6 separate regions of the Homo sapiens genome follow, and regions 1, 2, 3, 4 and 6 are each linked to region 5. The links are contacts of gene promoters, found by promoter capture Hi-C in blood cells and fetal thymus (Javierre and others, 2016). All regions are on one chromosome and are shown on one strand. The core of a region is centred on a gene start or on the middle of the fragment in contact, and the rest is flanking DNA. Distances in the headings are between cores, read along the strand shown. Region 1 overlaps FNIP1 (folliculin interacting protein 1). Region 2 overlaps RAPGEF6 (Rap guanine nucleotide exchange factor 6). Region 3 overlaps FNIP1 (folliculin interacting protein 1). Region 4 overlaps RAPGEF6 (Rap guanine nucleotide exchange factor 6). Region 5 holds the start of IL3 (interleukin 3). Region 6 overlaps MIR3936HG (MIR3936 host gene).

The links. The method cuts DNA at HindIII sites, captures the fragments that hold promoters and counts their contacts. A CHiCAGO score of 5 or more calls a contact.
Region 1: a contact is called between a fragment that was not itself captured here and the fragment with the promoter of IL3 in region 5, in 1 of 17 cell types (naive CD8 T cells). The highest score is 5.5, in naive CD8 T cells.
Region 2: a fragment that was not itself captured here is called in contact with the fragment with the promoter of IL3 in region 5 in 6 of 17 cell types (naive CD8 T cells, neutrophils, total CD8 T cells and 3 more); the score reaches 7.8 in naive CD8 T cells.
Region 3: a contact is called between a fragment that was not itself captured here and the fragment with the promoter of IL3 in region 5, in 1 of 17 cell types (total CD4 T cells). The highest score is 5.0, in total CD4 T cells.
Region 4: a fragment that was not itself captured here is called in contact with the fragment with the promoter of IL3 in region 5 in 2 of 17 cell types (total CD8 T cells and naive CD8 T cells); the score reaches 7.1 in total CD8 T cells.
Region 6: a contact is called between a fragment that was not itself captured here and the fragment with the promoter of IL3 in region 5, in 1 of 17 cell types (megakaryocytes). The highest score is 5.8, in megakaryocytes.

What each region holds. Positions count from the first base shown.
Region 1 is chr5:131,680,173-131,684,592 of GRCh38, reverse strand. The region is part of intron 11 of FNIP1 (folliculin interacting protein 1); the gene reads left to right. Among named protein-coding and RNA genes, the nearest start is that of RAPGEF6, 47 kb to the right of the region's middle. The HindIII fragment of the contact is 3,513 bases long and covers 584-4,096 here.
Region 2 is chr5:131,598,798-131,602,978 of GRCh38, reverse strand. All of the region lies in intron 3 of RAPGEF6 (Rap guanine nucleotide exchange factor 6), which reads left to right. Among named protein-coding and RNA genes, the nearest start is that of RAPGEF6, 34 kb to the left of the region's middle. The HindIII fragment of the contact is 9,095 bases long and covers 1-4,181 here.
Region 3 is chr5:131,707,325-131,711,691 of GRCh38, reverse strand. It overlaps FNIP1 (folliculin interacting protein 1), which reads left to right. Exons shown (of 18, transcript NM_133372.3): 7 at 1,031-1,114; 8 at 2,420-2,491. Among named protein-coding and RNA genes, the nearest start is that of RAPGEF6, 74 kb to the right of the region's middle. The HindIII fragment of the contact is 476 bases long and covers 2,254-2,729 here.
Region 4 is chr5:131,625,119-131,629,493 of GRCh38, reverse strand. The region is part of intron 1 of RAPGEF6 (Rap guanine nucleotide exchange factor 6); the gene reads left to right. Among named protein-coding and RNA genes, the nearest start is that of RAPGEF6, 7.9 kb to the left of the region's middle. The HindIII fragment of the contact is 2,101 bases long and covers 821-2,921 here.
Region 5 is chr5:132,058,733-132,063,161 of GRCh38, reverse strand. IL3 (interleukin 3) reads right to left here and starts at 2,507. Exons shown (of 5, transcript NM_000588.4): 1 at 2,294-2,507; 2 at 2,154-2,195; 3 at 761-850; 4 at 595-636; 5 at 1-493. The coding sequence starts at 2,455. The coding sequence ends at 371. LOC105379174 (a long non-coding RNA gene) reads left to right here and starts at 450. Exons shown (of 5, transcript XR_001742531.2): 1 at 450-522; 2 at 1,554-1,691. The HindIII fragment of the contact is 14,005 bases long and covers 1-4,429 here.
Region 6 is chr5:132,364,866-132,369,380 of GRCh38, reverse strand. It overlaps MIR3936HG (MIR3936 host gene), which reads left to right. Exons shown (of 8, transcript NR_110997.1): 2 at 2,600-2,813; 3 at 4,354-4,446. It overlaps MIR3936 (microRNA 3936), which reads left to right and starts at 3,782; the gene lies at 3,782-3,891. The HindIII fragment of the contact is 698 bases long and covers 902-1,599 here.

The DNA of each region.
Region 1 (4,420 bases), core at 1,091-3,590, 380 kb after region 5:
ATTGCCTGGAATTTACAGCATGCGAGTTATAAAATCTGTAAAAGTATATGTCACTATTATGTGCCTTTCCATTTGTATTGTTTGATTATTTTGCTTCAGTTGCTGTGCAAATATGAAAGGGATATTAAATATTCTTATAATATTTTATAATTTTCAATAGGAGGTCTACCTATATAAGTACTTTCACATATACAATTGATATTCACCATTTGTGGATTTTGTATTTTAGAATTCACCCACTTGCTAACATTTATTTGTAACCCCAAAATATAATTGCAGTGCTTTTGCAGTAATTTGTTTACATGTGCAAAGCAATGAAAAATGTGAGTTGCCTGACGCATATGTTCCTAGTTTAGATCAAGCAAGGTCTAATGCTTTGCCTTCTTGTTTTAATTCTCATACTGTTAACAAATATACTTTTTTGACATTTATTTAGTGCCAATTTTTTTGCATTTTTCTGCTTTTTGTTAGTGACTTTGCTGTTAAAAATGGCTTCCAAATGTAGTGCTGAAATGCTGTCTAATATTCAGTGTAAGAAGATTGTGATGTACCTTACAGAAAAAATACATGTGTTAGATAAGCTTCCTTCAGACATTATTTATGGTGCTGTCAGCCATGAGTTTAATATTAATGAATCAACAGCATCAAATAAGATATCCTTAAACAGAGAGGCACATCAAGGTTATGTATTGAGGGTTTGATGAAAATGTGACCAGAGGCTCATAGGAACCTGTTTATTTTCCTTAGGGGCAGTGGTTCAGTGTTGCTAATTCAGTGCTTGAGTGGGCTTTATAGAAAATAACTACCTCAAATAATGAGAATAGACTCTGCAGTCAGACCTTTATATCTGTGGGTTCCACATCTGCAAATCAGCCAACCTCGGATCAAAATATTTGAAAAAGAAAAACCAATAAAAATTAACTGCAATTAAAAAAATACACATTAAAAAACCAATGCGGTATAACAATTATTAACATAGTATTTACACTGCATTTGGTATTATAAGTACTCTAGAGATGGTTTTTTTTTTTTTTTTTTTTGAGACGGAGTCTTGCTCTGTCACCCAGGCTGGAGTGCAGTGGCGCAGTTTCGGCTCACTGCAAGCTCTGCCTCCCGGGTTCACACCATTCTCCTGCCTCAGCCTTCCGAGTAGCTGGGACTACAGGTGCCCACCACCACGCCTGGCTAATTTTTTTTTTTGTATTTTTAGTAGCGACAGGGTTTCTCCGTGTTAGCCAGGATGGTCTCAATCTCCTGACCTCGTGATCTGCCTGCCTCGGCCTCCCAAAGTGAGGTGGTTTTAAGTATACAGGAGGATGTGCATGGGTTACATGCAAATAGTATGCCATTTCATAAGGGATTTGAGCATCCACAGATTTTGGTAACCATGGGAATTCTGGAACCAATCCCCTGAAGACACCAAGAGATAAATGTACTTCTTAAATTAAGGGATTATTTAAAATTAACAATGACATAATCTTTAAATGATTATTTGAGATCAAGTGATTAGTAAATTTTGGGCAGTTGAGAAGAGGAAGGAAATTATTTACATGTGTACAGAAACCATGAAAGCTAGAGAAGCAGGAAGCATGTTTAGTTAACATTGCTGCCTAACAAAGACGAAGTCTTTAGATTTTTATATAGACCCTAGGCATATCAAAGAAAACTAAATCATGCCTACAGTTTCCTCCCAACCAAAAGAGTCTTTCATTGTCCGGGCACTGGGAAAAATAAGGGGACAGACTGGGAAAAATAAGGGGACAGATTACTGAAAGTATTTGCTTTTCTTACCATTGAATGATAGGGCACAATTATTAGTGGAGAAGAAAGAAATGATTTCTAGAATAAACCATTACTTCTAGATTTTTTTTTTTTTGAGACGGAGTCTTGCTCTACCGCCCAGGCTGAAATGAAGTGGTGCAATCTCAGCTCACTGTGACCTCTGCCTCCCAGGTTCAAGTGATTCTTGTGCCTCAGCCTCCCAAGTAGCTGGAATTACAGGCACTCACCACCACACCCAGCTAATTTTTGTATTTTTAGTAGACGGGATTTTGCCATGTTGGCCAGGCTGGTCTTGAACTCTCAACCTCAGGTGATCCGCCCACCTAGACCTCCCAAAGTGCTGGGATTATAGATGTGAGCCACCGCACCTGGCCATTACTTCTAGATTGTTAATGACAACAACATAGAGTTGTATATAGTGAGAAGCACTGTTGCGTAATTAATTTCTTTGCCTTCTTTATACTTGATAACACTCTGAGGCCATAGCATATATAATACTTTTAAACAAATATAATACTAAAATACTAAAGCAAAGGCTCTCATTGGACCACTAATACCAGTGTTTGTGATCTGGCTCTGTGCAATGACACATGGACTTATAGTAGACGGTAATATGCTGAAGAAACTCATGAAAAAGTCTTAAATGATCAGCATATTTATTTATTTATTTATACATTGTTTCTTTTAATCAAAAAGTATATGCACATGATTAAGAAACAAAAATTTCTGAAAGGTCCAATAATTAAAAATAAATGAATCCTATCCTACTCACCCCATTCTTCCCAGACACATTCTCTTTTTAACTATTATTTCTTGTTATTTACTTCCATATTATTAAAAAGTATACGAAATGTTGCTATTTCCTCATTTATCAGTTTTAGATCATATTTATTTTCTGCCATGATATATGGGTTTATACCTGTTTCTTGGTCCTTTATGGTCTCAGTATTGTTATAGCACCATCATGTTCTTCGGCTCTGGTAATTTTTCTGCTTTCTTTTACAATTTATTCTGTTTTCTCTCTGGAATCCGTTTTTTTTTTTTTTTTAGAAATTGGCACTCCTGGATTGTTCTGTGTTCCTTTTTTTTCATATTTTCCTTCTCTTTTTGTGAATGTTTTGTTTTTCTATCCCTTCTATGCTTTTTTCATTTCAGCAAATCTTTGATGCTTTCTTATTTTTGGATAATCCTTTTCTTTGAAAATTAGATTCTCTACCATACTCTTTAATTTTAATGTACATTAGAGTTTTGTTTAAAAGTTTTCTTCCATTGTTTGCATTATTTCTGTTTTCCTCTGGAGTCATTTTATATGGGTGAGTATGTGTGTGTTTCTGTTCTTGTCTTTTTCTCTGCTTGGAGGCTTTCTCTAAATATCAGTGTTTTTGGTTGCGCTCTGTAGTTGAGAATGAGGTAACAAACTGTAGGTTAGGAATTCTGTGCATAATCAGGCTTTTGACTGGAGACCTTCACTTCAGGGCAGTGTTTTTCAACCTTTTTTTATTATCATTACCTGAAGAAGCATATTTAGATATTTTTCCCCTAATCTCTGCTCCTTCAATACCACCGCCCCCCACAATCCCATGAAGATTTAACACTACAAGATATACTCTATATCTGATTATATACTCTGAAAGATACAAATGCCAGGAAGAGTTTGGAAAAGGTCATTCCTCGGGGCCATTCAACTGCTATATCTGCTCTCTCCTATCTGTAGTCATTTTCTGGGGAAGTGGAGAGGAGGTAGGGAGCTGCCAACCATTTATGGACTTTGAATTAGTCTCCCAATTTTCAGTACTGTATCGTAACTCCTGTCATGACTTTCCCAAAAATTTGTGAGTCTTGAGCCTCATCTTGCTTTAGTGGGGCAAATTAGCTCTCCTTTGTCCATGTCTCCCTCTGTGATACTATGACCTTATAACTTTCTCTACTCTGCTACTTCAATCACAATTCCACCATATGTTTGTATTCCAGAATTTCATGAAATCTCTAATTTTAATTTTCAGTAATAGTTCCTTGGCAATTTTTTTAAAATTAAGTAATTTATTTTTTAAATAATAGAGACAGGGTCTCACTGTGTTCCCCAGGCTGGTTTTGAACTCTGGGCTTAAGCAGTCCTCCTGCCCCAGTCTCCCAAAGAGCTGGGATTACAGGTGTGAGCCACCACACCCAGCTGGTTCTTCTCTAATTCTATTTGTTGCACTAGTTTATCTGTTTTCAAATCTTTAGGTGGTGTTCATTTGGGGCCTCAGAAACTGAAGAGAGGATAAACATTTGTCTTCAATTTTCCATCGTATCTGGACACCTGTAATAAGCTTTAAAAACAAACATTTTCATATATGCCTAGTTTGTATTCTAGTCATATTTGCTCTATAAAATAACTTTTTGTTTATTTTAAAATTCTTAGCAATGATTATATGTTCTACAGAGAGCTCATTAAAGTGACCTGTTCTTATTGTTTCTATCCATTGTAATACATCATGTTTATATTGTTTCAAATTCAACAAAATTTGTAGAGGCAAGATAATTCTTCTCTTTTTTGGCTCCTAGGTGTTACCAGACAGTGATACTGAGGTTGGTATTAGAATTTATGGAAATCTCAGAGAACTTTCTAGAGCAGTATTGCACAATAAAATCTCAG
Region 2 (4,181 bases), core at 751-3,250, 460 kb after region 5:
AGGTTAGTTTTGCCACTTATTGAACTTGGTATAGAGAGAATCTTTTGGTGATGCTTTTTTACTTAATAAATATCCAAATTTTTCTGTTTTTGTATGTGTTCTTTTTCACTGCTGTACAATATATAATTGTGTGCAAATAATGATTTGTTTGTCCCTTCCACTGTTAATAGTTGGGTTATTTCTAGTTTTCTTTTTGTTTGTTTGTTTGTTTGTTTTTGAGATGGAGTTTCGCACTTGTCGCCCAGGCTGGAGTGCAATGGCATAATCTTGGCTCACTGCAACTTCCGCCTCCCAGGTTCAAGTGATTCTGGTGCCTCAACCTCCCAAGTAGCTGGGTTTACGGGCATTAGCCGCCATGCCTGGCTACTTTTTGTATCTTTAGTAGAGATGAGGTTTTACCATGTTGGTCAGGCTGGTCTCAGACTTCTGACCTCAGGTGATCCACCTGCCTCGGCCTCCCAAAGCGCTGGAATTACAGGTGTGAGCCACCGTGCCTGGCCAATTTCTAATTTTTAGTATTATAAATAATACAGTTTCTATTAACATTCTGTTATTTTTGTGCCCTTATTGCTTACTCCTGTTGAGGATATTCCTAGGAATAAAATTATGGTCATGTGCCACATAACGTTGTTTCAGTCAGTGATGGACTATTGTGTCAAGTTGCCTGCAGTATTCAGTAGAGTAACATGCCGTGCAAGTATGTAAACTAGGAGCAATAGGCTATACCATATAACCTAGATGTATAGTAGGCTATACCATCTTCTAGGTTTGTGTTAAGTACACTCTATGATGTTAGCATGATGAAATCATCTAATGATGCATTTTTCAGAAAGTATCACCATCATTAAGCAAGGCATGACTGTAGTGGAAATGTGCATGTTCAAATTCAGGAGATTGTGACAGTTTTTTAAAATTAGTTGTACCAATTTTTTTTTTTTTTTTTTGAGACGGAGTCTCGCTCTGTCGCCCAGGCTGGAGTACACTGGCACAATCTCAGCTCACTGCAAGCTCCGCCTCCTGGGTTCGTGCCATTCTCCTGCCTCAGCCTCCTGAGTAGCTGGGACTACAGGTGCCCACCACCATGCCCAGCTAATTTTTTTTGTATTTTTAGTAGAGACGGGGTTTCACTGTGTTAGCCAGGATGGTCTCGATCTCCTGACCTCATGATCTGCCTGCCTCAGCCTCCCAAGGTGCTATGATTACAGGCGTGAGCCACTGCGCCCGGCCAATTGTGCCAATTTTAATAACCATTAGCTGTGTATAGTTAAGTTCCAGTTGCTCTACATGTTTGACAACCCTTAATGTTTGTGTTTTATTGTTTGCTTATTTTGAATTTTTGCTACTCTGCTGCTGATTACATTATGTTAGTTCATTGTGATTTTATTTTACATTTTCCTGTTACTAATGATGATGAATGACATTTATGTTTCTATCAGGTATTTGGATAGCTTCTTTTATTAATTGGGTTGTCTTTATCATTTCTGTTGATTTGTAAAAGTTATTTTTGAATTCTGAGTGGAAGTCCTTTGTTGGGTATGTCTAGTCTATTATCTATTTCCACTGTGCCACTTTTCCTTTTTTTTTTTTTTTTTTGAGACGGAGTCTCGCTCTTGTCACTGAGGCTGGAGTGCAATGGTGTGACCTTGGCTCACTGCAACCTCTGCCTCTCGGGTTCAAGGGATTCTCCTGCTTCAGCCTCCCGAGTAGCTGGGATTACAGGCGCCCGCCACCATGCCCAGCTTATTTTTTGTATTTTTAGTAGAGATGGGGTTTCACCATGTTGGTCAGGCTGGTCTTGAACTCGTGACCTCAGGTGATCCACCCGCCTCGGCCTCCCAAAGTGCTGGGATTACAGGCGTGAGCCACCGCTCCCAGCCTTCTTTTTTTTTTTTTTTGAAATGGAGTTTTCTTGCGTTGCCCAGGCCAGTCTTGAACTCCTAGGCTCAAGAGATCCTCCTGCTTCAGACTCCCGAGGATTACAGGCATACGCCACTACACCCAGCTCTTTTTGCTCTATTATTGGCATCTTTTGAGAAAGAGTAATTCCTTTCTCAACTTGTCCCCTTGTGATTAGGGCCTTTTGTGTCCTGTTTTAAAAAAAATCAAATCTTTCCTTTCTTCATGATTGCGAAGATTTTCTTTGTTTCTCCTCCAAAAGTTTGGTGTTTTCTGTCTCAAATATAGATCTACAATTCATCTTGGAATTGAGTTTTACTTTTGATGTGAGGTAGAATTCAAGATTCATTTTTCTTAATTTTAAAAATATTTATTAGTCATTTTAAATTTAATGAGAAACCCATCACGTTTCTTTTTTTCCTTCCTTCCTTCCTTCCTTCGCTCCCTCCTCCTCTCCTCTTCTCTCCTCTTCTCTCCCCTCCCTTCCCCTCCCCTCTCCTCTCCTCTCTTTTCCCTCCCTCCCTCCCTCCCTTCCTTCCTTCCTTCCTTCCTTCTCGTTAGTTCTTTTCGTCTCACCATGTCACCCAGGTTGGAGTGCAGTGGCGCGATCTCGGCTTACTACAACCTCCGCCTCCTGGGTTCATACGATTCTCCTGCCTCAGCCTCCGAAGTAGCTGAGACTACAGGCGCGTGCCACCACGTCTGGCTAATTTTTGTATTTTTAGTAGAGATGGGGTTTCACCACATTGGCCAGGCTGGTCTTGAACTCGTGACCTCAGGTGATCTGCCTGCCTCGGCCTCCCAAAGTGCTGGGATTACAGGCATGAGCCACTGCGCCCAGCCTCATTACATGTTAACACAATTAACATTTATGAGAAAGAACTATTTTCATAAAAGATTTAATTATAGTTTAGCAAATCTAATATCTTTCTGACATTAATCGGATTGTCATATCTGTTGCATTCAGTCTGTTGTGATATATTTTTTGAATGAAAGAAATCTTCATACAGAGAAGTTGTTAAAACAAAAAAAAATGCGGGAAAGTTCTTTTCAGATAAGTTGGGTATTCTTCTTTAAAACAGTACCAAAACTTGACAGGTTGCTTACAGATTAGTTTCAGTATGGGGTCTGAGACTTTATCCATGAACTTTTTACTGTGTTGCATTAGAAACAATTGGTCTATCTTGCACATTGAATAAATCATTTCTCTATGTTTGATTTTTGTAATGCCATGCGTTGGCCATTTGGAAAATATTCATGGTCCTGGTGTATGTAGTTTTTCTCATTTTGGCACTTTAAAAAAAAATTTATCAAAAATGGCATTGCTAATATCACCACCAGCCTCTTCTGAAAAGTTTAGGGAAGTGTCAAGCTCACAGTAATGGATACAAATTTTCTAAAATGTAAATTGTTGATTGAAGGCATGGATTTTATTATTGGCAAGATTCATTAGGTATCCCTATGGACATCCAGTTGATCCAGCACCATTTATTGAAAAACTATCTTTTTCTCTCTTGCGCTGCAGTGTCCACTTTGTGTTAAATTAAGTGACCCCGTGTGTGTAGGTGTGTGTGTGTGTATCTCTGTGTGGTCTCTTTATTTTGCTCAATTGTTTATTGCTCATTTGTTTATTGTTTATTTTGCTCATTTGTTTATTTTGCTCATGCCTGTGTTCATGCAAGTACTGCACTGTCAAGCTGTGTAGTTTGAGTTTTTTTGTTTGTTCGTTTTGTTGTTGTTGTTGTTTTTTGTTTTTGAGACAGAGTCTCACTCTGTCACCCAGGCTGGAGTGCAGTGGCAAAATCTCGGCTCACTGCAACCTCTGCATCCTGGGTTCAAGCGATTCTCATGCCTCAGCCTCCCGAGTAGCTGGGACCACAGGCGTGGACCACCATGCCCGGCTACTTTTTGTATTTTTAGTAGAGACAGGATTTAGTAAAGACGGGGTTTCACCACGTTGGCCAGGCTGGTCTCAAACTCCTGGCATCAAGTAATCCGCCCGTCTCTGCCTCCCAAAATGCTGAAATTACAGGCGTGAGCCCCCACGCTCGGCCTAAGCTGTGTGTTTTGATATCTGATAGCATGAGTTTGTATTCAGTAGAGTAACTCAGGCTTGTACTCAGGCTTGTTCTTCAAGATTGTCTTGGCTATCACTGTTGCTTTGCCTTTCTGTGTAAATTCTAGAATCAGCTTGTCAATTTCCACACACAGTTATACACAAGAAAGCCTTTGGGAGGCTGTGGGCTTTGGATTAGGATAGCATTAAATCCATAAATCAATTCAGA
Region 3 (4,367 bases), core at 1,242-3,741, 350 kb after region 5:
GACTTTGTCTCTACTAAAAAGTTCTCAAAATTAGCTGGGCCTGGTGGCATGCACCTGTAGTCCTGGCTCATGGGGAGGGTTGAGGAGGGAAGATCACTGGAGCTCAGGAGTTCGAGCTTGCAGTGAGCTATGATTATGCCATTGCATTCCAGCCTACATGACAGAGCAAAACTCTGTTTCAAAAAAGGAAAGAAGAAACATGCAATTGTCACTTTTTAAAACAGAAAGCCCCGTATTCCATCCTAGTTAAATGTCCTTCATGGCTATTTAGACTATTTTCATGAAGCATAACTAACAGGTAACCCAGCTGCTTGCTTTCAGGCTATAATGTCCTTCTTGGGTCTTCAGACTGCAGTTACCTTTTCTTGATGAAGCATGTGGCAGCCACTTCTCTTGAACAGCTGGGAGTCTGGTCCCTGATGAGCTTCATTTGTGTTCCTCCTTCCACAGTGGCTGACTCCTGGTTTAGTAACCTTGGTTTCTTCCATTACTTTGTAACTTACAACTGGGTTAGAAAAACCAATTTTTAATTTGTCAGTAAGATCTCTTCTGGTTTTGCACCCTGTTGTATGCTGTGTGCCAAGTGCTTAGGTGGTTTTCTCCTCGCTGCAGTTGTAGGCACATACTATAATCTTCAAACAACTTTAAAAAAATGAATTTATTTGGCAAATATCAGATTAGATAGATAACATTATCGTACTTTTTCAAATCTTTAAAAATACTGCTTTACATTAGAAAGGATTGAACATTTAAAATAATTTTTACTTTATATAGCAGAAGCTTGTTTTTATTACATATAGATTTATTAGTAAAAATACATGAAGTTGTTGTTTCATATAAATCATGGCTAAAGAAACACCATCCTGTTTCAAAAATGGGAAAGACAGCTTGAATTCTTATTTAGTTTAAAAGTTTCCATCCATATTTGTTGGTCTGCTCTTGTGCTGCCTTAGCTCACCTTTTTTCCCTGACGCATTGTGGCTTCTCTAACAGTCCTCTTTCATGTGTATTTTACGTTTTTGCCATGTAGGTCTTTCACAGTTCTGCAGCCCCAGGCGGGCATTCTCTGAGCAGGGTCCGCTCCGCCTGATCAGGAGCGCCTCTTTCTTTGCAGGTTTGCGATGTGCTGTGTGGGTAGACTAGTTGGTGTGCCCCAACGGCTAGAATCTGTAGTTAAGCTGTGGAAACAAGAGAGTAGATGAATGCAGTTGGTGAGGTTGTGGTTAAGAAAACATTGCATTAGGAAGTATAAAAACTTAATTCCTTTTCTACTGAACATGTTCTTAAAGTTTCCAGACACCGGATTATCAGTAGAATTGACATTTTTATGAAATTTCAGTTTGTCATTTCTCTTGTGGCATAATGATTTTAACTTCAGAATCTGAAACCAAAACTTAATATGAACTTTATTTCTTATGATACCACTTGGAATTTTTAATGTGACACTGTCTTGTTTCCATGGCTGAGTAGCTTTTGTACCATAGTTCACCAATTGCAGAAAATTATCCTATCTTGTTATTATTGTAAAATTTCTGATCTACACTATTCCATAAGAGCAGTTTTTCTTGGAGCTAAGATTTAGATGAACAAGCACTACTATAATGCTCTGTAAAAGGCATATATGACTATATTTGCTTACATAATCAAGTTGATGATTGTAGAGTATGTTCATGTGTATATATCCAGGATTCTAATCATATTCCTTGTTTTCACACATTTTAGCGGATTACCTAACATTGTAACCTTTTAGTGGAAATTACTGGAATGTGAACACATTTACTCTTCATTGTTCTCAGATTGGTATCAATTTAGCCCTTCTTGTTTTGATTAATATTTTCTTTCCCTGTAAATATTAGATATAAAAAATATATATTTGTAGAAAACTTGGAAAACACTTTTAAAAGGCAAAAATATATATTAGCCATTTTATCAGCCAGAAATACCTGCTTTTTTGTTTTTTAAAGAAAATGGGGATCATACTATTCAAATAAATATCTCAATTTATTATAGAGAATTTTGAAACATACATTGTTATAGGCAGAAACAGTACAGTGAACTATGATATACCCACCACTTGGTCCCAGCAAGCACTCATACTGTTCAGTAGCTTGCTTTTTTTCATTTAATAGTATATTATAAATATGTCACTGAATATGCTTCCAAAATATGACTTTTAGTCACTCCTTGCTTCTTTAGATATTATGTTTTAGATTCTTATACTGTGTATCAAATCTTCACAGAGCTCTCAAAGCTTGTTCAACTGAGTAATAGCTCTTGGTGTTGGGTTGGTGCCATGCTATTGAAAAAAATAAGGGAATGCAATGAGATGAGCATGATTTCGTTTGCTATTTAAAAGGAGCTGTTCATCCACCTGAATAGCAATATATTTTATAACTGACAGTTTCATCTTTATTTATAGTTCACAGCAACCCAATGGACATGCCTGGAAGAGAGCTCAATGAGGACAGAGACAGTGGCATAGCACGGTCTGGTAATGTCACGTTCTTGTATTCAGTTTTTTATGAGATTACTGTTGGCATTGATTTTCTTTTTTATCCCTCCCTTTATTATCAAATTTGTTCATATTGATATTAGCCTTACAAGAGAACTGTGAAAAGACCAGAGCAAAGTCTTATAAATTTAATATTTTTCATGTTTACTTTTAAGTGTGCTAAGTAGGATAAAGCCAGGATGAAGTAAAGCCAGAGTAAAGTACACTGGTTGAAGCTTAGTGAATATAAGAAGAAAAGCATTGGTCAGAAAAACTGCTTAGAAACTGTAGTAAAAAAAAAACACGTTTGCTTATATTTGCTTGCTGCTAACTAAAGTTTAAATTGTCATATTGTCTCTTGCCCAGAAAAGCATAGGCATTTTGAATCAATGTTATACTTTTTTTTTTTTTCCAAATATGGACCTGTCCAAAATTTGTAGGTCTAGCAAACATTTATTGAAACATGGTGGACATTAAAAAAATTAAAGCCCAGAGTCTGCCCTTACGGAACACAGATGTATGGAGTCTACTGGGAGAAAAATTAGGAAAATCATCTGTCATAGGTCATTGTGTGATGCATTTAGTGATAGGCCTGCGCAAAAAGCTTCAGCGAAAGAGCACCACACTTAGCCTGGGCAAGGGGCAGGGATGCCAACAATGCTTTACAGAAGGATGATGATTGAGTTGTATTTTGAGAAATAAATAGCAGTTATCCAGGCAAAAGCTCAGAAAAGCATTTTAGCTAAAAGGAAAAGTGTTTGTTGGGGCCCAGAGAGCAGCATAAGTAAAAGGAGGAGTAATTTTAGGCTTGAATTACTGTTAGATATGAGAAACTTAATTCAGTGTGATAGCATGTGTTGTTACATTATATGGCTCTGCTATCGAAATTGTTTTGTAATTCAGTTTTGAGTATAAATGAAAAATCTAAACTTGCTGTATATTGCAATCCCTAGGTATGTATTAGAATAACAAAGAGAAGTTTTATAAAAAATTCAAGTGCCTGAACTCTACTTTCAAAGACTCTCGTGTAACCTAGAGAAGGTATCTCTAGGCATCTGTATTTGTGAAACAAAACAAAATGCAAAACCTAACACTTGATTCTAATGGATAGCTAGGGTTGCCGACCACTACTCTAATAAGAGTAGCTTGTGTTTTTCAAGTAATCTCATCTTTCTTTTCTAATTGAGTTTCTTATTTTTGTTTTAAAGAATCTAGAGTTTATTTCTTTTAATAAACTTTGCTTCGATGTAATCTAGATATTTAGTCTTCCCTGGCAGGAATTTAATTCTCATTATTTTATTTAAGATTTAAGTATAATTTATTTATACTTACATTCTTTGTAAGTTGAAGCATCTGGCTAGACTGATCTGTTAGGCTGCTTCAAGTTATTGGATTCATATATGCCATTTAAGTTAATGTGTGTTTTCTTTTTTTTCTAATAGGGTTATTTTTAATATTAGAATGCAGTGAAATGTATTTTTTCCAAACTTAGGACAGCATTTTATTTTTCACTGAAGTCATACCCAGATTTAGTTGTACATACCCAATCTTGGACTACAAGAGTTTATAATACTAATTGATAAAATGTGGTCTGCATTTAGAATCTGCATTCTAAAGTAATTTAGAATGAGTTCATTGATGGTCTACATGTTTGCATGGCACATACAGCTTTATCCTCTATCATTGAATTTGTCAGAATTCAAATGAATAGATCTTCATAATGAAAGTGTCTCAGTTTTTAGTGCTGGTGTCCAAAATAATTTATCATCTGGCCTGTACCTTTTTAATAGTGATGATAATGGTTCCCTGTTTTGAATATACATTTTCAGTATGTGCTTATGATCATGAAAGATAGAAGTCTGGAATATTGCCAAAC
Region 4 (4,375 bases), core at 622-3,121, 430 kb after region 5:
CCAGGCTCTATTTCTAATTCTAGTTCTCTTGCTATTTCTACCACACATGCAGTTGCTTCCTTCACTGAAGTGTTGTACCCTTCAAAGTCATTCATAAAGGTTGGATTCAACCTCTTTCAAACTCCTGTTAGTGTTGATATTTTGACCTCCTCCCATGCTTCACAATTTTTTTTTTCTTTTAAGTGATAGTCTCAATACATTGCCTGGACTGGTCTTGAACTCCTAGGCTCAAGTGATCCTCCCACCTCAGCCTCCCAAAGTGTTGGGATTACAGGCGTGAGTCACCATGCCTGGCCCACAGATGGTTTTAATGGCATCTGGAATGATGAATCATTTCAAGACAGTTTTCAATTTTCTTTTCACAGATCTGTTAGGGAATCACTGTCTATGTCAGCTGTAGCTTTATGAAATGTGTTTCTTAAATAACAAGACTTGAAGGTTGAAACTTTTCCTTGATCCATGGGCCACAGAATGGATGTTGTATTAGCAGGCCTGAAAAAAATCACTAATCTCCTTGTGTACCTCCATCTGAGCTCTTGAGTGACAAGATGCATTGTCAGTGAGTAGTAGTATTTTGAAATGAATCTTTTTTTCTGAGCAGTGGGTCTCATCAGTGGACTTAAAATATTCATTAACCCATACTGTAAACAAACGTGCTGTCATTTAGGCTTTGTTGTTTATTTACTGAGCACAGGCAGAATAGATTTAACATAATTCTTAAGGGCCTTAGGGTTTTCAGAATGGTAAATGATCATTGGCTTCAACTTAAAGTCACCAGCTGCATTATCCTCTAACAGGAGTCAGCCTGTCCTTTGAAGCTTTGAAGCCAGGCATTGATTTCTCCTCTCTAGTTATGGAAGTCTTAGGTGGCATCTTCTTCTGATATAAGGCTGTTTTGTCTACATTAAAAATCTGATTTTTAGTGTAGCCACCTTCATTAATTATCTTAGCTAGATCTTCAGGATAACTTACTTTTTATGTTAGTGGAGGTGGCTTTTTTTCGTAAACTTCATGAACCAACTTCCACCAGCTTCAAACTTTTCTTCTGCAGCCATCTCATCTCTCAACCTTTTTAGAATTGAAAAGTTAGGGCCTTGCTGTGGATTAGGTTTTGGCTTAAGGGACTGTTGTGGCTGGTTTGATGGTTTATCTAGACCACTCAAACTTTCTCCATATCAGCAATAAGACTTTTTCACTTTTTTTTTTTAAATCATTTTTTTGTTCACTAAAGTAGCACTTTTAATTTTCTCCATGTGCCTTTTCTTTGCATTCACAACATGGCTAACTGTGTGGTGCAAGAGGCCTGGCTTTGGGCCGTTGTTAGCCTTCCTAAGTTTAATCATTTCTAGCTTTTGATTTAAAGTGAGAGATAGGTGACTCTTTTCACTTGAACACTTAGGGGCCATTGTAGGGTTATTAATTGGCCTAATTTCCGTATTGTTATGTCTCAGGGAATAGGGAGGCCCCAAGAGAGGGAGATAGAGAAGGTGGAACAGCCAGTGGAACAGTTGGAACACATACATCAGTTACGTTTGCCATCTTACATGGGCACAGTTTGTGGTGCCCCAAAACAATTACAGTAGTAACATGAAAGATTGCTGATCACAGGCCACCATAGCAAATATAATGAAAAAGTTTGAAATGTTGTGAGAATTACCAAAATGTGACACGGAGACATGAAGTGAGCATGTGCTGTTGAAAAAAATGGTGCTGTTGGACTTGCTTGATGCAGGGTTGTCATGAACCTTCAATTTGTATTTAAAAAAAAAGAAAACAACCCCACAATACCAGCCAAGCACAATAAAACAGAGTATGCCTGTACTTCTTTGCGTCATTATGCCAGAATTCCTTAAAGAAGCCACAGTCATAATTAGACCTTGAACTTGGCTGTTTCTCAGCTCAATCCACATTTAATACCATTCTTTATAACGTTCCTTTTTTTACTTCAGAATGAACTCCTTATATTTCCCTTAATGTTTATTTCCCTCTCAGTGCTTAATGCCATGATTTGCACATATTAAATGATGAATAAATATTTTACAAGCCAAAATTTGGAAATACATTTTGTAAAGTCATCATATGTTAAAAAGGTAGCACTTCGTATTCATTGGAACTGCTAACTTTTTGTTTCTTGGACAGTCTTACTCAGCAGCTTGGTTTCAGTTAGTTGTTATAGGCTAATGCCTCCTAGGATTATGTTTTCCAACTTATCCCCTAAATTTTATGTGCTTCAGCTTCATATATCAACCATCTTGTCCTCCAGGTTCTTCAACCACTTGTCCTAAATTGAGCCATCATTATTCCTCTTCCTTCATAATCTGTTGGCAGCTGGCCGAGTTGCTGTCTCTAGGAATTTGTATTATTTCTCTTCATTCCTCATAGATGCAACTTGCCACTAAACTTTGTCCCCTGAATCTTTTTATTTGCCCTTTTCTTACAAGTTTTACTACTCTAATTCAGTCTGTTTTATTGTTTCTACCCCCAAATTATTGCTTGAGTCATTGAGTCTTGCTGCTAGAGTGATCTTCCTCTCAGATCTGATTATGTTCTACTCTTGCTCAGAATTTTATTTCCTATATTTCCTAGGTATAGATTAACAATATGTTGTTCAAATCATTTTTGTGAATTAAAAGAGAAGCTGTTAATATTTATTTCAGAGTAACAGGTTAAAGAGGGACTGTCCCGCTTAAACTGAGATATGGTTACCTCACCCAGATGATAACATTAATTTGTACATTCATTTAAGAAATAATATATCTGATATATTAAAAACCAAGGTTGTAGAGAGGAGTTAGACATGGTCCCTATTCATCAATGACTTGGGAGACATAAGAAAACATAAATGTAATAAATGTTTTAGTTATTAGTGACAAAGGTATGAGTAGGGCTTTGGGATTGCAAGATGGGGAAGGGAACAAGCTTCATGGGGGAGCATTGAATTCCCAGTGTTAAATGTCATGAATTGATTTCTGGATGATCAAGAGAGGTCATTCCAAGCAGAGAGGCAGGAGCAAAAGTACTGATGATGGCAAGCCATGTATACTTGTAGAATAAGAAGCCAATCTGTAAGTCTAGAGCAGGCATTCCCGTTGGAAGTGATATCGCTCCCAAAGATGCAAAAATTGCCTTTTATGGGAGTGGGAAAAAAAATCACAGCTATTGGTATGGTTTGTGGCCCTCTAAAACTCAGCCCTAAACTGACAGTGTCTTATTCTTTAGTATTTAATTAGAGATGGGGCAGTGCTTACGAAAAATTGTCTGAAAGGTTCTTTGGGAGGGGATGAAAATGAAAAAAAGGTTGCAGAACACTGGGGCTAATGTCTAGGATGTTTGGGGATGATGGTACATGATGTGAGATGTTTAATGATGAAGCTGGACGTACTAGCAGGGTTTGGATAATTTCAGAAATTTGGACTCCATCTTATAAATAAAGGAGAAAGAACCGTTGCAGGGTTTAAAGCCTGGAAATAAGATCAGTTTTATAAAGACTACTATGTGAGCATTTTGGAGATGTAATTGAGTGGGGAGGAGCAGACTAGAGACAGGGAGGCTTATAGGTATACAGGTAGACTGGACATGTATTTTATCCAAACTGGGATATTTTCCATGTGAAAGGTAAGACTACTAGTGATTATACTAAGATAATATGGAAACCAAGAAGTATGGTTTTTTTTTTTTTTTTGAGACGGAGTCTCTGTCACCCAGGCTGGAGCGCAGTGGCGCTATCTCGGCTGACTGCAAGCTCCACCTCCCGGGTTCACACAATTCTCTTGTCTCAGCCTCCCGAGTAGCTGGGACTACTGCCGCTCGCCACCATGCCTGGCTAATTTTTTTGTATTTTTAGTAGAGACGGGGTTTCACCATGTTAGCCAGGATGGTCTCGATCTCCCGACCTCGTGATCCACCCACCTCGGCCTCCCAAAATGCTGGGATTACAGGTGTGAGCCACCGTGCCCAGCCACCAAGAAGTATGTTTTGTTGTTAGAAACAAATACAGTAGTTCAGGTGTGAGATAAGGTCCTGGACCCAGTGGTGGCAGCAGTTAAGTGGGATAGTGAGGTATTAAGGAGGTAGAATTGGCCCAACCTGGTCACTGGTTGGAAAGATAATTTCTCCTCCTCCCCCAGACTTTTTTGAAAAACTTTGAAATGAACTATAAAACATAAAGTCCATATGCCCTAAATATACATTGGCAGATGATTAATTTGTTTTGTTTGTTTGTTTGTTTTTTGAGACGGAGTTTCTCTCTTGTCTCCCAGGCTGGAGTGCAGTGGCACAATCTCAGCTCACCGCAACCTCTGCCTCCCGGGTTCAAGGGATTCTCCTGCCTCAGCATCCCAAGTAGCTGGGATTACAGATGCCTGCTACCACACCT
Region 5 (4,429 bases), core at 1,258-3,757:
TTAAAACTCGAGGTACAAATGAACATGCTCCCCACCCCACTCTGAGTTTTTTGCAGAAGCAGCAGGACATGGCTCCTCTGCTAAAATAAATACAGTTCACACTCCAGGCAATAAATAAATAAATACATACATACATAAATAAATAGTCTCAATGGGATAAAAATGAGAACACAACCGCACAAGGCCAAATGGGAGCTGCACATTTCAGAAATTAGATAATTAACAATTCATCTGATGCCGCAGGAAAAGGTGAAATGCTTCTGGTCCTGGAATGTGTGAGAGATGACCCAGAGGTTTCAGAAGTTCTGCTGTTTTTGATGTCCCGAGGCTCTGTGGTGAGAAGGCCCAGAGAACGAGCTGGACGTTGGACTCAAAAGATCGCGAGGCTCAAAGTCGTCTGTTGAGCCTGCGCATTCTCAAGGGTTTTCAGATAGAACGTCAGTTTCCTCCGGAATTCATTCCAGTCACCGTCCTTGATATGGATTGGATGTCGCTATAAAGAAACCAAGAAGGTGGCATTAGGTGAGTCCAGGCTGTAATGGTGATGACCAGCTGAGGAGCAAGCCATGACGGGCATCTTGGGGGACAGCTTACCGTGGGTGCGGCCGTGGCCAGGGGCAGACATGGCAGGAGATTCTGTGGAAAGAGACCAAAGCAGATGGTCAGAGATTCCCTTGGAAAGGGAGTGGGCCCTGCTCTCCTCCCCAGAGGCAGGGCAGGGCCAACACAGGGATCCCAAACCCTCAACAGCTTCACATACTTTAAGAATGCTCTCAATTGCTGATGCGTTCTGTAAACTCTTGACAGCCCTGTTGAATGCCTCCAGGTTTGGCCTTCGAAGGTTATTTTCCTAACGGGGCAGAGAATACACTTAAGGGGGAAAGGTTACAGAGTATCCCTCCCACAAGCAGGTGGAAGTCACCCCCACAGTTTCCCAAGCCCACTGTTGGGGACATCCTCGGGTTCCCTCCTAGTCCCGTTCTTGCCTCAGGTGGGTCCCTGCCCAAGGGCACAGGCCTAGAAGTGAGTGGCAGGCAGGACCTGGTTTCCTCAAGCCCCCAGTCTCTGGCTCCATTTGAGCTACATAAAGGGCCTAGGTGGGCTGGGCGCAGTGGCTCAAGCCTGTAATCCCAGCACTTTGGGAGGCCGAGGCAGGCAGATAACCTGAGGTCGAGTTCAAGACCAGCCTGACCAATATGGTGAAACCCCGTCTCTACTAAAAATACAAAAATGGGAGTGGTGGTGCATGCCTGTAATCCTAGCTACTTGGGAGGCTGAGACAGGAGAATTGCTTGAACTCAGGAGGCAGAGGTAGCAGTGAGCTGAGATCGTGCCACTGCACTCCAGCCTGGGCAACAGAGTGAGACTCTTGTCTCAAAAAAAAAAAAAAAAATGGGTGGGGAGGGGGTACCTAGGTGGATCTTTCTGCACTTGGGGGAAAAAATATCTCCAAAAAGAAGCTCTACAAAAGACAGGGGGTTTTCCAAGGGAAGTATTTGTAGCTCAGAGGCTGATAACAGTGTTCATGCCCTGACTGAATTAAAGTCTCCTAGAAATCAAGAAGAAAATCACAGAGACCCCAGCATGGAAATGGGTGCAGCATGTGAGCTGTGAGTGCCCCAAACACAGATGGCCCAGGAACTCAGCAAAGGCTTCCACTTCTTGTTTGACCCAAGAAATGTCATGCAAAGGTGAGACAGAACAACTGCAACCAACTGGAACCATGAAAAATAACTGTAAATGATAATGCCACAGCCAATGAGGGTGGAAAACACAAACTCAATTTTTTAAGGGAAAAAGAAGCTGGCACATCTGAGGGGGAAATTTCTGTCTGTCAGTCCAGAGTCTGCCCTACCAAACACTGACCTTAAGGCCCTTGGTATTCCTCACCTAGAACTGCCTTTTCATTTTCTAATTTAAAAGTCATTTTCATTATTATAGCCATGGCTGTGGCCATGTATTGAACTCTTAAGTGCCAGATGCTGGGCCAGAACATGCACATTGTGCCATTTGATTGTCATAACAATCCCACTGAGATAGGTGCTATTAACCCTATTTTACAGATGAAGAAAGCAAGGCTAGGTAAGATGGAATGACATGGCTGAAGTCACCCAGGCAGGAAGTGGATCGGGATCCACGGGCTGAGCTCTTACCATCAGAATGTCTTGGTCTTCCCCATTGAGGTTGTTGAAGTCCTGTGGGGGTGAAGGGAGAGAAAGGCCCATGAGGCCTTTTGGCCTTAGGCAGCCACCACCCCTCACTGCTGCAGGCCAGTCTTATCCAAGCTACTCACCAGCAAAGGCAAAGGTGGCTGCTTTAAGTGTGTTATAATTTCATCGATCATGTTAGAGCAGTTAACCCAGCTTGTCTTCAAGGGCGTTGTCTGGGTCATGGGAGCTTGGAGTCCGGGGCGGACCAGGAGTTGGAGCAGGAGCAGGACGGGCAGGCGGCTCATGTTTGGATCGGCAGGAGGCACTCTGTCTTGTTCTGGTCCTTCGTGGGGCTCTGAAGAGTTGGCAACAGCCTCCCGCCTTATATGTGCAGCAGCAAGGTGCCCACAACCCCGGGCAAGGCGGGGGGAGGTGGTGGTGTGGGGCAGGCGTCGGAAGGATCTTTATCTGACATGGAACCTCCATAGAAAACCACAGACGTAATTATTCATCCATGACTTTCTAGTACTCAAGATCAGTGAAACAAGAAAAAAGATTACTTAAACGGTATCACTTCATCTTGTCAAGGAGGATGAGAGATGGGAAGCATGGCAGCAGGTGAGAGGACCCCTGTGGCAGGAAGGGGAAGCCTGACTCAGCTCACTGAGGCCTCCTGCCCAGTGGGATCTCATCTGCCATCACCTGGACTACCCTGGCCCTCTGCTGCCCGCCCTGCTTGGTCCTGGTGGGTGGCCAGGAGGCCACTGGAACAGATGAGAGTTTGTCTGGTAGCCGGTCACGCTGCTAAACATCCACGTTCAGCCTCAGGCTCTGAGAAGCACATCTCTTGGTGCCGCTTCCCAATACAGAATTACTGGTGTTCCAGTCCCCAGTGGTTTGTCCCATGGGCTTCGGGCAGCTTCTCCTTGACACTTTGTTTCTGGTGGATGGCCGAGGGCGCTCAGGCCCCAGGTGGCCATTCTCTTACTGGTCTGCTAGCAGTGGCATGGCTGTTCCCTGCGTGTGGGACTCAGCCTCTGCAGGAGGCCCGGCTGCAGCCCCTGGCAGTCCCTCTGGTAGCACCGAGAGCTGAGCTCAGGTACCTGAGGACACTGTCACTGGGAGCTGGGGGAGGGGCTGGCCTGGGAGGTTTAGGAGGCAGAATTGGCATGGTCTGAGGGGTGAGGTCAAGGGAGGAGAAAGGAGAGCAACTCCCTGGTTTCAGACTGGGCCTCAGGCTGCTGGGGCAGGGATTGGCAGGAGACAGTTGTATTGAGAGGTCTTGATCCCCGTCTGTGCTGAGCATGGATTTGCCAGGTGCAGGCCCAGTAGGCAAGGTTTGCAGAGAGGGGATGTGAGTGGGGACAGACCATGGGGAAATCCACAAGGGACCTGAGAAACTGCAGCCAGATAGGAAGCAGGAAACCCAGAAGGGCGGGGGTGGTTATCCCAGAGGGCAGCCCCTGAGAGAAGAGGGGTCCTCCTGATACGGGCCTGTCTTGGGGCCTGCCTGACCCACCCCATGGGGTAGGGGCTTTTGGTAAAGGGATGAGTGTGACAGGGGCATGTGGAAGACTTCTTCAAGATGACTGGCCCCGGGTGGGAGGGAGAGGAGAGCAGTAAGGAAAGGCCAGGGTCTGGGTCATGGTGCGGTGTGTTGTGATCAGTGTGGGGGATGCGGGATAGGAGGTTATGCTGAGGCAGCGGAATTTGGGTGCTTTGGGCTTCTGAGCATAAGCAGATCAGGTGAAGACAAGGACCAGGATGTGGCTGTGGGGAGGCAGGTGAAGAGGCTGTGACTCAAGGCCATGCTGTGAGGATGATTTCTGTAGCTGATATGCCCTCCTGGCTCAGCCCCAGGCTGGGCCCTGGACCAGGAAGAGCCCTAGGTTCTGGACCCGGAGTGGAGTCTGACAGGCACAACTCAACACACAGAGGGGAGCCTTAGCACCAGCTTGCGTACTCCGTAGGCACAATTCATTCAACAGACGTCTACAAAGCACTTGCTGTGAATAAAACAGACATGGTAACCTCCACTAGCAGCTCAGTCTTGTGAGGAGACAGATTTCCAGTCTTGCTACCCTTCCTGTGGTCCCAGACCTGCAGGTCAGCCCTGCCCGGGAGCTTGTTAGCGGTGTCAACCCTCAGGCCCCAGCCCAGACTTTCTGAATCAAAAATCGCATTTTGATAAGATCCTCAGTGATTCAGTGCATTTGAGGGGCTCTGATCTAACTACCTCAGCAATCTTAGCTCCGGTAGGGTCCCCTATTGCCCCACGG
Region 6 (4,515 bases), core at 1-2,500, 310 kb before region 5:
AGTTGCTCTTGACACCGCCTAATCTTATAAGAGGGACGGGGATTATTTTGAACCTGGGACTGTTAACTACCCTAGTAGAGAGGCTGGGAGCTATGACTTTTCATTCTAGTCCAGATGCCCTTTCCACATTTTCGTCTGTAACAAGCCATTTTGTTCATGCAGATGTAAAAATTTAACTTCACGATTAACGATCCTAGCCTAGGGTTAAATATTCCCCACAGATTAGTTATTTCCGTGCAGAGTTTATTCAGAAGCTAACTGGAAAAAAAAAAAAAGCAGCGAGGTGATTCTAAAGCAGCAATGTTCCATAGGATAAGGAGCTACATTTGTTATGTTAACTTTTCTAGTAGCCATATTAATAAAATTGCCAGATTTAGCAAATAAAAATATAGGACTCCTAGTTAAATTTGAATTTCAGATATAGAATGAATAATTTTTAAATATTATGTCCCAAGCAGGAATATATAAAATAAAAATGTAACTGGTTGTCCTGTATTTTATTGGGCAATGCTGCATATTTAAAAAGTAAAAATAAAAGATGAAATTAACTTTAATGGTATATTTAATCAAGTATATCCAGAACATGATCATTTCATCATATAATCAATATAGAAATTATTGATATTTTACATTGTTATATGTAAATCATTGATCTTTTTTTCCCCTCCTCATACTAAATCTTAAGAATTCAGTGTGTTTCACAGGTTCTCAGGATTTGAAAAAAAAAAAAAAAGGAATCCAGTGTGTATTTTACAGCACATTTCAATTTGGACTAGCCACACTTTTTATTTTTTAATATTTATTTATTCATTTATTTATTGGAGACACGGTCCCACTGTGTCACCCAGGCTAGAGTGCAGTGGCACAATCATAGCTCACCGCAGCCCTGAACTCCTAAGCTTAAGTGGGCCTCCTGCCTCAGCCTGCTGAGTAGCTAGGACTACAGGCACATGCCACCGTGCCCAGCTAATTTTTTTATTTTTTTTATTTTACAGAGACAAGGCATCCCTGTGTTGCCCAGGCTGGTCTCAGACTCCTGGGTTTAAGCAATCCTCCCACCTCAGCCTCCCAAAATGCTGAATTACAGACGTGAGCCACTATGCCTGGCCAGACTCATTTTTTAAGTGCTCAGTAGCCACATGTAGCTATTGGTTATCTTATTGGACAGCACCATTCCTAAGGCCTTTAAGAATTTGGGCTGCTAAACTTAACAATGCAAGATATTCCTTTTTAAAATAGTAGTGGCTTAGTGATAGAAACAGAACTAAGTGTATATTTTTACAATATAATGTGTTGAGTAAAGAATATTTAATAGTCACTATATTATGAGTTGAAAATAAAGCTACAGAAAGGGAACCTAACCTGGCCAGCAGATTTTTAACAAGGAAATCTAAACATTTGCATAAAGCATAATAGACTTAAAAAAATTATGATAAAGATGTTATCACAGGACTTGTTTGTTTCTTTATACTTACTATTCACTATTCTTACTTCCTGAAGATGGATGGTTATACCTTCAGCAATGTACTTAAATCCTTCTAACATCTTATGTGAAGTTATAGTTCTTATCTAGAACTAACTGAAAAAGAAAGCAAAGCTTCTTGAAAATAAACTCCTTTTTTGTGTGCTAAAATATTATTTTAATGCTTCAAAAGAAATGAAAGCTTTTATGAGAAGAATGTTGACCTCTGTCCAGACCAAACAAGATGAAGAAGTCTTATTTTAACATTTGAGAAATATCAGTTGGGCATCAGATAACATTCCTGAAAGGGACTGAAAACAATGCAGTATACTACAAAAGAAGCTGCATATCCTTAGGAAGAAAAGAAACTATTTGTCATAGATGGCTTGTCCACATGCGCAAAGCAGAGAGCAACCTAAGATGGTGCCGTCCAGTTCCAGGTGCACTGTGATTACTATCTGAATGCCATTACTATTTAAATTGCATTTTTTTTTTGAGACAGGGTCTCCTTCTGTCACCCAGGCTGGAGTGCAGTGAGGTGGTCTTGGCTCACTGCAGCCTCAACCTCCTGGGCTCAAGCAATCCTCCCACCTGAGCCTTCCAAGTGCCTGGGACTACAGCCACGCGCCGCTACACCCAGCTATTTTTTTTGTATTTTTGGTAGAGACAGGGTTTTGCCATTTTGGCCAAGCTGGTCTCAAATTCCTGACCTCAAGTGATCCCCCCGTCTTGGCCTCCCAAAGTACTGGGATTATAGGTAGGAGCCACCATACCCAGCCTTAAATTTCATCTTTTAAAAGAGAAAGAGAGCTTAGAATCTTAATCAGTTACCTGAGGCCCTTTATCCTGCAATATTCTGAATTGGGATGTTCCTATTTTACATATTAAAAAATGTAAAACTGATTTATATGGTAGATAACCCTACAGTTCAGGGCTAGAACTTTAGATTAAATGCATTCATACCCTGGCAGATGTGGTAGCTTGCCTCCAAGATGGCACCCAATGAATGATCCCTGTACCAGGATTGGTCTATGTGACCAAAAGCATACAGCATTAGTGATGATACTTATATCACTTGGGTAATTACATTATAAAAGATGTCCATCATGGGTGTTCTTTTCCCTTTCTCTTGCTCAGAGACAAGCAAGCTGTCATGTTATAAGCAGCCCTTTGAGGGGTCCATGTGATGTCAAGGAATGAAGTCTCTAGCCAACATTTAATGAGGAACTGAGGCCCACCAACAACCTTGAGTGAGCTTGGAAGTAGCTCCTTCAGCATCAGTTGGGTGTCGAGATGACTACTGACAGCTTGACTGCAACTTCATGAGAGTCTTCTGGACCAGAACCACTCAGTTAAGTGGCTCCCAGATTCCTGATCCTCAGAAACTCTGAGAAATAATGAATGTTGGTTGTTTTAAAATGGTAAATTTTGAGGTATTATGTTATGTGGCAATAGATAGCTAATATATAAATTATTTGAATCAAACAATACGTTAAATTAAAGCTCAGAAGAATAAACATCTGTAATTCCTTAATTTGTTTTCCCTTCTATTCTACAGAATAGAATTTTACAGATGAACCTTGTAGTTACTTGTGCAATAAGAGACAGTATGTTGTATTGATTAAGTGCAGAGCCTCTGGATGTATGATAGAAGAAAGACCAATATTCAATTGCTTTCTTCTTCAATTCCAAGCTTGTGAGCTTGAGCAAATTTTAAAAGTGTTTTAAGCCTCAGTTTCCTGGGATGGTAGTGCTTAGCTCGAGCTCCTAGCATATATTAACTACAAACTAAATATTAGCTATAATTATTAGTTTTACTTTGATTATTGACTCTAAATAAATACCTTAAGAACTTTGTGTTCTCCACAGATTTGGATATGTCTGGACGTTATGTAGGCTGGAGTAGTCAGCAATTACTTGCCTGAGGAAGGGAAGGCCTCCTCCTTTAAGAAAAGAATAGGCTGGGTGCGGTGGCTCATACTTGTAATCCCAGCATTTTGGGAGGCTGAGGAGGGTGGATCACCTGAGGTCAGGAGTTTGAGACCAGCCTAAGGAACATGGTGAAACCCTGTCTCTACTAAAAATACAAAAATTAGCCAATTGTGGCACGCGCCTGTAGTCCCGGCTACTCAGGAGGCTGAGGTGAGAGGATTGCCTGAGCCTGGGAGGTGGAGGTTGCAGTGAGCCGAGATCGCGCCACTGCACTCCAGCCTGGGCAACAGAGTAAGACTCCGTCTCAAAAAAAAAAAAAAGAAAGAAAGAAAAGAGTAGAAGGCCCAAGCTTAGTCCAATATTATAGCTTCAGCATCAGAGTAGAGAATGATTCAGAGCATCTGTCCAGTGTCTGCTGTAGATCCCTCAAATCCGTGTTTGGACGCTTCTGGTAAGGGGTGTATGGCAGATGCACCCGACAGATGCACTTGGCAGCAATAACTTATGCATACCTGAAGAATGACCCTATGGTCTAAGAAGAATGTGTGTTCAGAGCTCCAAGCTAAGGAATCTGGGAGTGGCCAACCCAGATATTTCATTTCTTATCTATGACGAACTTCTGAACTGCTCCCACCCCCAGCCCATCCTGTAGAATGCAGGCCCTACGAGGCGATCAAAGCCCTTTGTTTTAGGTTAAATGAAGGTTGCCTGGTGGAGGTTGCTAGGGGAAAGGTGTTAAGTAAAAATGTTATATAAACTGCATGGTGTTTTTTGTTTGTTTTTGTTTTTTTGAGACAGAGTTTTTGCTCTTGTTGCCCAGGCTGGAGTGCAATGGTGCAATCTCGGCTCACTGCAACCTCCGCCTCCTGGGTTCAAGTGATTCTGCTGTCTCAGCCTCCCAAGTAGCTGGGATTACAGGTGCCCACCACCAGGCCCGGCTAATTTTTTGTATTTAGTAGAGTCAGGGTTTCCCCATGTTGGTCAGCCTGGTCTCAAACTCCTGACTTCAGGTGATCCACCTGCCTCAGCCTCCCAAAGCGCTGGGATTACAGGTATGAGCCACCACGCCTGGCCAATTGCATGCTTTTTACAAGGAGTTTTGGTTCTCCTGCCCAGCCCAC